3 separate regions of the Homo sapiens genome follow, and regions 1 and 2 are each linked to region 3. The links are contacts of gene promoters, found by promoter capture Hi-C in blood cells and fetal thymus (Javierre and others, 2016). All regions are on one chromosome and are shown on one strand. The core of a region is centred on a gene start or on the middle of the fragment in contact, and the rest is flanking DNA. Distances in the headings are between cores, read along the strand shown. Region 1 overlaps LOC105371269 (a long non-coding RNA gene). Region 2 has its middle 4.4 kb from the start of AKTIP. Region 3 holds the start of RPGRIP1L (RPGRIP1 like).

Region 1 (2,984 bases), core at 113-2,612, 160 kb after region 3:
TTTTTTCCTACTTAAAAAGTTACCAGCTGAAGTCAGGTGCGGTAATCCCAGCATTTTCGGGGATCGAGGTGGGCAGATTGCTTGCACCCAGTAGTTCAAGACCTTCCTGGGCAACATCGGGAGAGCCCCATCTCTACAAAAATACAAAAATTAGCCATGTGTGGTGGCGCACACCTGTAGTCCCAACTACTTGGGAGGCTGAGGTGGGCGGATCGCTTGAGCCTGGGAGGTTGAGGCTGCAGTGAGCCAAGATCACACCACTGCACCAACAGCCTGGGTGCAGTGGCTCATGCCTGTAATCCCAACACTTTGGGAGGTTTGGGTGGGAGGATCCCTTTAGCCCAGGAGTTTGAGATCAGCCCAGGCAACATAGTAAGACCCTGTCTCTACCAAAAAATATTTTTAAATAGCTGGGTGTGATGGCACATGCCTGTAGTCCCAGCTATTTGGGAGGCTGAGGCGGAAGGATTGCTTGAGCCCAGGAGTTCAAGATTGTAGTGAGCTATGATCACACCACTGCACTCCAGCCTGGGCAACAGAGCAAGACCCTGTCGCTGAAAATAAATAAATAATATTTGCTTTGTGCAGAAAATTTGGAAAACAAGACAAAAAGGAATTTAAAAATCTCAGTTATAATCCTATCAACCAAAGATGACCACTGTTAACTTTACATGGTACTATAATTTTCATTAACCCATAGGAGAGGAACTTTCTTTCATGTCACTGCATATTCCTCTATATGATTTTGAATGGCTACAGAGTATTCTTTCATATGAGCATACCATAATTTACTTATGCCACACATGATTACTGACTTTTAACAATGATAAGGTTTGTACTGATGACATTTCTTAAGATACACTCTTAGCTCTGGAACTTCTGGATCAAAGAGGGCATGTACCTTCAAGGCCTCTGAGACATATATCAAGTTGCCATCCAGGGTCAACCTCCTAGAATTTAACATCGCATCTGAAACCAAAATCTAACTTCAGGAGCCCAGAGCATTCACAGTTCCAGAAAGAGTGTGATGGTAAGTGGTGATCCTTGGTGTTCGGGAAGCTTTGCAGGGCATCCCAGCTGGAGGTAGTCAAAGTTATCAGAATGGTTTTTGATAAATTCTTTACCTTGTAGATGATTTAGACTGGAGTGCCTCCAGGAAAGCAGGAAGCAAGACATGTTTTTAACCTGGTAAGTATTTAGTCAATAGAGCATTACCAAGGGCTCAGGAGATTAAGAAAGACAGGATTATTTTAATGTATCTTCATCACCCAAACCTCACCACTTGTCATGGTTAATATCACCCCTGGCTTATTTTTCCTGTTCCCACATTCTGTCCACAGTTTGTGCCCACAGATACTTTGCCCTTTCCTCTCCTCCATGTCTTATAAGGTGAAGCTGGGTTCCTCTGAGGTCACAGAGCTGTGGTAACTACATCCAGTGGGTGTTAGAAAAAACCCTGGCCCCTCTCAGATGTGAGATGTGGTCTAAGGACTCAATACACTGACTTAGGGAAGACTTGAGCTTTTTTCTTTGGAACTGAAACATTTTCCATATGTTTATATAGAGTTGTGGCAACAACTCAAGGGATATGAAAAGCAGATTTTACAAGAGTATGATTGCACAGCAAAAGTCAGTTTTGGGTTAATTTTGGAAAGAGAAGCTTTGATTTTACTGTGTGCCTAGTAGACAATGTCCCATCAGTCACACACAAAGGAAGAATGTCGGCAGAGAATCCCATAAAGTTAGCACCTAATGTAACTAGCGTTATTGGAAGTTGAGGCAGAGACAAGGGCTGCCCAAGGTCATGGTCACGGTAAGAGGTGGGTGTAAGCTGCCTTTCTGCCTACTGGCTCAGTGATCATTTTAAAAGAGGGTGACTTAACTACAGAAGTAAAATGTGACTGCCTTAGTTGTTAGAGAGCAAGAAGACACTCAACTGCATAAGGGGAACCAGCAGCAGGGCTCCTACTAGAGGCTGGAGTCTCTTGGGAAGAAACAATTTCCCACCATGTGTTCCCTTGCGTGCTTGGCCATGGTAAGGCAGAACATGGAGGGTGAAATCAGACCTCAATCTTTTCTCTGATTCATCTTTCTGCAGGCAAACACCTCTCAGGAGAAGGAGACAAATTGTTGACTTGAAACCCAGTTTTCCTGCCCTGGCAGTAACTGCGCAGAGTGGGGGAGGGTGGACATAACCCTGGGGCCTCTCTGTTTGTATTGAATGTTCTCATCACCCTGACATCCTTGCAGTTTCCCTTTAATGCACGTGTGTCATGCTGAGAGTGCAAATGACTGTCTTGGGAGTTCTGTTTTTCCTACTTGTCCCCGCCTTCCCTGTGTGTCTGGGGCCCATGGATGTTCAATGGGACAGGGGCTAAAGTGGCCGCCAGGGGACAGAGTTGCTCACCTGCATAGCACCTTCCCTCCACCCTCCATGCACTGATGGATGGAACTTCTCATGGGTTTTTGGTCCACCGCACTCTATTTTTTTTGTTCCAGGGTTAAAAACATGGAGAAAGCTTGAGGCAGGGAGGATCTCCTTACTGCAGATAAAAAACCCAAGGCAGAGGTAATCAATACCTCATTCTTTAATAGCTCACAGTGGGACCCTTGAGCACACCAGACAACACAGCAAAGATCATAATTATGCTGATAGAAGTAACTTACAGGGTCAGATGCCTCCTGTCTGTCCATCTCTTAACCATATGATCTTTTACTTTATGTGGCAATGAAATAAAATATTTTGAGGCTGGCATTTCAGTCGGTCCAAGTTACAAATACAGCTGAGCACTTTTCTAAGCCATTATTTCCCCAGCTGGAAGTGAAAGTTAATAATTTTGCCCCAACTCTCAAACCCCATCACCACTTGCTTCTCAGGGATGCAGTGACAAGACAAGAGATATTTGCAATATTTGCAGTGTTTTCCAGACTTTTCTGATGCCAAGAAGCACCTGGGAAACTTGTCCAAATACAGACTTCCAGCC
Region 2 (3,202 bases), core at 361-2,860, 200 kb after region 3:
GAAAAATAACTGTCTTAGTCTGTTTGGACTGCTATAACAAAATACCATAAACTGGGCAGCTTATAAACAGCAGAAATTTATTTCTCATAGTCCTGGGGGCTGGGAAGTCTGAGAGCAAGGTGCTGGCAGTTTAGGAGTCTGGTGAGTTCTTGCTTCTTCAGGGATAGCATCTTCTCACTGCGTCCTCATGTGGTGGAAGAAGGAAGATCGCTCTCTGGGGTCCCTTTTATAAGGGCACAAATCCCATGTATGACTAACTCATAACCCAGTCATCTCCAAAAGGCTTCACCTCCAAATACCATTACATTAGTTATTACGTTTTCAACATATAAATTTTGAAGAGATAAACATTCCGTCCTTAACCATAAAAGTGTTTTCTTGGTGTGTGACAATTAGGGCAATTTTAATAGGTCTGAAGGCTAGGTGCGGTGGCTCAGGCCTGTAATCCCAGCACTTTGGGAGGCCGAAGTCGGCATATTTTGAGACCAGCCTGGCCAACAGGGCGCATCCCTGTGTCTACAAAAAAATACAAAAGTCAGCTCGGTGTGGTGGTATGCACCTGTAGTCCCAGTTACTCGGGAGGCTAAGGTGGGAGGATTGCTTGAGCCCAGTATGCTGAGGTTGCAGTGAGACACTGCACTCCAGCAAGGGCAACAGAGCAAGATTGTGTCTCAAAAAACAAAAAAAAAGCATACAAAGTCTAGGAATGTGGAGTTAATTTTCTTAGGGGTGGCTGTGGCAGTGTAGTTCTGTAAGGGAATGTCCTTGCTCTGAAGAGAAACACCCTGGGAAGCACTAAGGAGGGAAGGACATGATGACGGCAACTTATTTTTAAATGACTCAGGAGGAAAACTAATAGATGAAATACGGCAAAACATTAACATTGTTGAATCTAGATGGTGAGTGTAAGGGAGTTTGTTGTCCTCTACTCTTCGGTATGACTGAACATTTTTATAGTAAAATATTAGAATAAATGATGGTCACGGTGTCATTTGCTTTGGGTGGGTGACTCTCGAGATCACTGAGCTTCCCTATCGTTCACGGAATCACCATTTACCTATTGCAAGAAAGAAAAGGTGTCTGTGCCTGGAATAGTACCCTTCCCTGAAAGAGTATTGCTTTCTCTCTCTTTGGTTTTCTGAGTGTGCCACTCTAGATAAAACTAACTCAAGCCTTTATCATCATTCCAAATGCTTTGAGACCACAGAGTGAAGTGGTTTCCCAAAGATAAACTGAATCAAAGAGAACACTGCTCTTATGGCTGTGGGTACAGTCATCAGCGTGCTGAGGGAGTGGGGATTATTTGCGGTGTCAGACCACGTTCAAAATGCTGTTTGATTATAAAAGGAAATCAGTTCTCTTCAGCCCTGAATGAGCAGCCGTATCATATATTGGTTGCTTTTCCTTAAGACATAAATATCCGCAGTGGTCCATCAGCTACCCTGATTTCATTTTGAAATGTTGTAGTCTGTCTGTAAAATTCATTCCTCCACCCGCCCACCCACTTGCTCAGGGATAGGAGTTATGGGTAATGGGATAGGGAGGAAAACATGATGCAACCAAAACCTGGAAGCACATGTGTGATGTTATAAGCAAGAACCGTATCGCTCGATGAGGCTATGGAAAGGAAGAAAGCCACATCATCCGTCTATAGCAGCATTTCTAAACCTTCAATAATTCTTAAAAGTTTGTGATTTCTGTCTTGTCTGAGGATCATTGTTAACTATAGGACAACTATCTGATCTCCCTTAAATCCATTTACTTAAAAAAAACAACAACATTAAATGCCTACTTTGGTCTCATCCTAAACATTATTACCCATAAAATAATGGCTTTAATGTGCTAAGTATATTTTTTCAAAGACATTAATATGTATAGCTAGATCATCCTCCCATATTTTGAACAGTATATGTAATCAGTGACATGTATACAGGAATCTACTTTTCAGAAAAGGACTTGGGGGCAAATGGATTGCGCTAAAAACATCGGCTTATATGTGTGCCTGTGTATGAAACATATGTATTTTAACAACCTTCAACATTTTATCCTTTCCTTCTTTCTGTGAAGGCCTTTAATAGTTAAGTCAGTGATCTAAACAGCTTTGTACAGTTACTTTTCCGGAGTCCAAAAGATGTATGATTCAGGGAATATTTTGCTGATTAGAACATGAGCAGAAGTCCTGAATACTCAGAGATCACATATCTATTAAGTCTGGATGCAAAAAGAACCTTTTGGTGCAAATATATCAAATATGCTTCAAAAATTGAGAATAGGAAATGTAATATGAAGCGATTTAAAATGTTTTATAGGTAAGGTTTTGGGTCCATTGAGATTTTTCTCAGCACTTTATGTTTTAGTCTTAAAGAAATGGTACCTTGAGGCCACCTCCTCATTTCCCTTTGAATAAATCATCCTGATTTTCATAATGAGTTGCTTTCTTGGTGCAGACCTGTGGGCGTGCAGGTAGGTGTTTCAAATGTACTTTTGTTTCTTCTGTCCTTCATTTGGCAAATATTTATTGCATGCCTACAACATCTAGCTCTTGGGTGCCGGGGAGACAATAGAAAGCAAAAAAATGGTTCCTCCTCAGGAGCTTACAGTGTGGGAGACAGACACTAATAATCTCCCAAATCAACAGCAAATTGCCCCCAAGGAAGTAGTGTTAGAGCTGAGATCTGTGTAGGGGATTGAAGAGAATGAACTGGGCAAAGGGAACGTTCACTGCGAAGGCCCCTTTTGTGGCAGGGCAGGTAGGGGAGCAACTCCCTTCCAAGGAACTGGAAGAATGTCAGAGTGGCTGGAGTCTGCAGCCACCTGGGGCTGGGACACAGCCATGGTGAGGAGTTTGGTCTTTGCCCAATGGGGAACCACTGAAGGGCTTAAATTCCTCAAGAAAATGGAGGTTCTGTCAGCAATGAAAAAGGGAGAAGTGGGTATTAGGTATACAGGCAATAGTGCTTACAGAAACACCCCAAACATACCTACCCAAAACACAACCCAGATTTTCCCATTTCCCACTGTCCCAAACCTGCTTGTGGTTCACTGTTTGTCACCTCAGTGAATGGCCTCACCATCCATCCTGTAGCTCATGCTAAAAATCTAGGTGTCAGCCATATCTGCCTCTTCATCCCCCATACCTAGTCCATGGCCAAGCTCTGTCCACCCCACCTGTATGAATCCATCAGTGTTGCTATAAAGGAAT
Region 3 (3,066 bases), core at 219-2,718:
GCAGGATCTTGTAGGCAATGTGAAGTTTTGCCTTTATCCTAAGAGCAACAGAAAGCCATGGAATATTTTTAAACAGGTGGTTGGCAGAGTAAGGAGAAAGGAAAGGGACATAATTATATTTGCATTTCACGAAGATCTTACTCTATGGTGTGCAGAAGAGAATGGTAGTTGAGGGAAGGGAGAGAAGGTGGAAGAAGAGTTAAGTTAGGGTGTAGAGTGAGTGTAGGCCAATCAATAGGCTATTCCAACAGTCTATTAAAAAGATAATGGTAGCTTGGTCCAAGGTAGTGGAGATGAAAAAAAAAAAAAGTGGGCATATTCCCAATATACGTAGACAAATCAACAGGATCTGAGTTTGGGAATGAGAGAAAGGAAAACACTCAATGCTTCTGAGCCTCAGTTCTTCATCTGTGAAGCTGGGCTGTTATTTATACTCCATCTGTATAATATCTATCTTGCAATCTGCTGTGACAATGATATGAAATAATTTAAATATTATGCACTTAATACAGTGCCTGACCCACAATAAATGCTTTTTAAAATCTCTGTTGCCATTATTATGGTCATCCCATGGAATGGCAACTACCAGAAGCTGAACATCAAAGGTAGAGAGGAGCAATGTAGTTAAAGATTCATATCCACAGCGCTAAAAGACACAAACTGTTATCAGCCGGTCACGGAGACAATTGTTCCAAAGAAACACAGCTGACTGCACAGATATTTCATCTAAGCCGATCTCAGTCCTCAGAGACCATTATGAGAAAGCACAGCTGGTATGATCACAGTCATCTGAGAATCCGGTAAACTGAGGCACAGGGATGGCGACAAATTTAACCAAGGAATAGATGCAGAAGAAGGACAAGGAAATGGGTATCTTGCTTCTCATTTTTGAGCCGATCCAACAAGACTCGGCCTGCATCCTGAAGAGCACGAATTTGTAACATCCCCTCTAATATCTCCAGGTCCCTTGCTGACAAGGCCCTGTCATCCCTTAGTTTAACACCGCGCATCCGCTCGCCATCAAACCAAGCCCTTCCGGTTCCCTGATCCTTGCTCACAGCGCACGAAGATCTCCAGGCCCCGGGAGCCCGACATACCTTAGCTTCGCGCTCTCGTTCCTCGGCAGTCGGGGTGCGCTTCATGCTGCCACTAAAGCCGCCTTCGCCACCGCAAGCTGCGTAGATCCCTCGCCCTGGACCCCGCCTCCTGCATGTAGTTCTCTCAGCGTCCTGCTCCCGTCTGGAGCTATTCTCCCTCTGAGTAGAAAAAACTACAACTCCCAGGATGCACCGCGGCGACACCCGCGAGCGCCACGGGATTTAGCACAGGAGAATTTCCCAGGTCCGACAGCTGGAAGAGCGTAGTCCGCTACCCCGCGAGCAAACAGGCTAGAGTCCAAGGAGAACTACATTTCCCAGGAGGCTACGGGAGCCTGCCATGTTTCTCCCGTGCTCCTCTCGGCCAGCCGCCCGCCACGCTGTCGGCGCTATAGCAACGGTAGCTAGCTGCAGGGCCAGTGGCACGGTGAGTACCCGGGAGGATGGGGGAGGATGAGGGTGGGTGGAGGTTGCTGACCCTCCCCACTGCAGCGCGGGCCGGGGTCCTAGGGTCCGCTCTGCCGCCTGGAGAAGGCCCTGGAGTTGGCCCTGGAGTTCTGCTGGCGTGAAAGCAGCCCAGCCCAAGACACCTCCACATCCTCAGGCCTGAATCACAGGCCGCCCTTTATCCCCACGTCCAGGACCAATTTGAAATGTTATATCCCAGCCATGAAGGTGAGAGTTGATGCTGCTAATTGCCATCTCTATCCAGATCCTGCAAGTTGTAGGTCCCTAACACAGTTTGCTCATTTGCCCTGGATTAGGAGTTGGTTGGTAGACCCTAAACCTCCTGAGTGGTCTATTGTTTGCTTAATTATATATTATTTGTTTATCATGTGATTACCTCCATAACTTGCTAGCTTCATAAAGGCGGGGGTTTTGCTTGCCATTTTAATCTCAGTACCTGATATTCATTTATTCATTCAATAAATATTTTTTCTTTATTCTTTTTTTTGTGTGTGTGACAGGTTCTTGCTCCGTTGCCCAGGCTGGAGTGCAGTGGTAAGACCTCAGCTTACTGCAAACTCCTCCTCCCAGGTTCAAGCGATTCTTCTGCCTCAGCCTCCCGAGTAGCTGGGATTACAGGCGTGTGCCACCACACCCAGCTAATTTTTGTATTTTTAGTAGAGACAGGGTTTCATCATGTTGGCCAGGCTGGTCTCGAACTCCTGGCCTGAAGTCAGCCGCCCGTCTCGGCCTCGCAAAGTGCTGGGATTACAGGTGTGAGCCACCACGCACAGCCAATCATTCAATAAATATTAATGTTGGTTCCCACCCTGTACCAGGCACTGTTCCTGAACAGTTGTGAACAAGACTAATACCCGTCTCAAGATGTTTATCCTTTTTTAGTGGAGACAAACAATAATTTTATCTGATAACTTCAGATAGAGGCAGTTGCTATAAGAGATACAAGCCATGCTTGGTGGCACGCACATGTAGTTCCAGCTACTCGGGAGGCTGAGGTGGGAGGATCACTTGAACCCATGAATTCAAGGCCAGCCCGGGCAACATAGCAAGACCCTGTCTCAAAAAAAAAAAAAAGAAAAGAAAAGAAATAAACAGTGAAGAAATGTAAGGAAGACTACTCTAACATAGGATGGTCAGGGAAAACCTGTCTGAGGAAGTGAACTGAGCTCCAAAGATTAAGGAACCAGCTAATACAAAGGCCTTGAGCAAGACAAGGGTATGGGGGGTTCGAGGAAAGTAAAGAATAATGTAAGTGAAGCATAGTGAGCAAAGAAGGATAACATAAGATGGTGTTGGAGAGGCATTGCAGCATTGTGCAGGGTTTTTCAGCTTCTACACTATTATTAACATTTTGGGCTGGATAATTCATTATTATGTCTCCTAAGCACTGTAAGATATTTAGCATCATCCATGGCCTCTACTCACTAGATGCCAGTAGCATCCCGCTTCCTTGTTGTGACAACCAAAAATATCACCAGACACAACTATTAATACTTTCAAC

The links. Contacts are between HindIII fragments. The CHiCAGO score rates a contact against its expected background, and 5 or more counts as called.
Region 1: a fragment that was not itself captured here is called in contact with the fragment with the promoter of RPGRIP1L in region 3 in 1 of 17 cell types (naive CD4 T cells); the score reaches 5.1 in naive CD4 T cells.
Region 2: a fragment that was not itself captured here is called in contact with the fragment with the promoter of RPGRIP1L in region 3 in 1 of 17 cell types (naive B cells); the score reaches 5.0 in naive B cells.

What each region holds. Positions count from the first base shown.
Region 1 is chr16:53,546,470-53,549,453 of GRCh38, reverse strand. LOC105371269 (a long non-coding RNA gene) reads left to right here. Exons shown (of 8, transcript XR_933588.4): 4 at 857-1,030; 5 at 1,132-1,188; 6 at 2,500-2,569. Among named protein-coding and RNA genes, the nearest start is that of AKTIP, 45 kb to the right of the region's middle. RefSeq lists a silencer at 2,301-2,480 and an enhancer at 2,038-2,539. The HindIII fragment of the contact is 601 bases long and covers 1,062-1,662 here.
Region 2 is chr16:53,505,995-53,509,196 of GRCh38, reverse strand. No RefSeq gene overlaps it. Among named protein-coding and RNA genes, the nearest start is that of AKTIP, 4.4 kb to the right of the region's middle. The HindIII fragment of the contact is 3,745 bases long and covers 1-3,202 here.
Region 3 is chr16:53,702,261-53,705,326 of GRCh38, reverse strand. It overlaps RPGRIP1L (RPGRIP1 like), which reads left to right and starts at 1,468. Exons shown (of 27, transcript NM_015272.5): 1 at 1,468-1,524. FTO (FTO alpha-ketoglutarate dependent dioxygenase) reads right to left here and starts at 1,171. Exons shown (of 9, transcript NM_001080432.3): 1 at 1,098-1,171. The coding sequence starts at 1,142. RefSeq lists enhancers at 949-1,358, 973-1,473 and a silencer at 1,509-1,558. The HindIII fragment of the contact is 16,527 bases long and covers 1-3,066 here.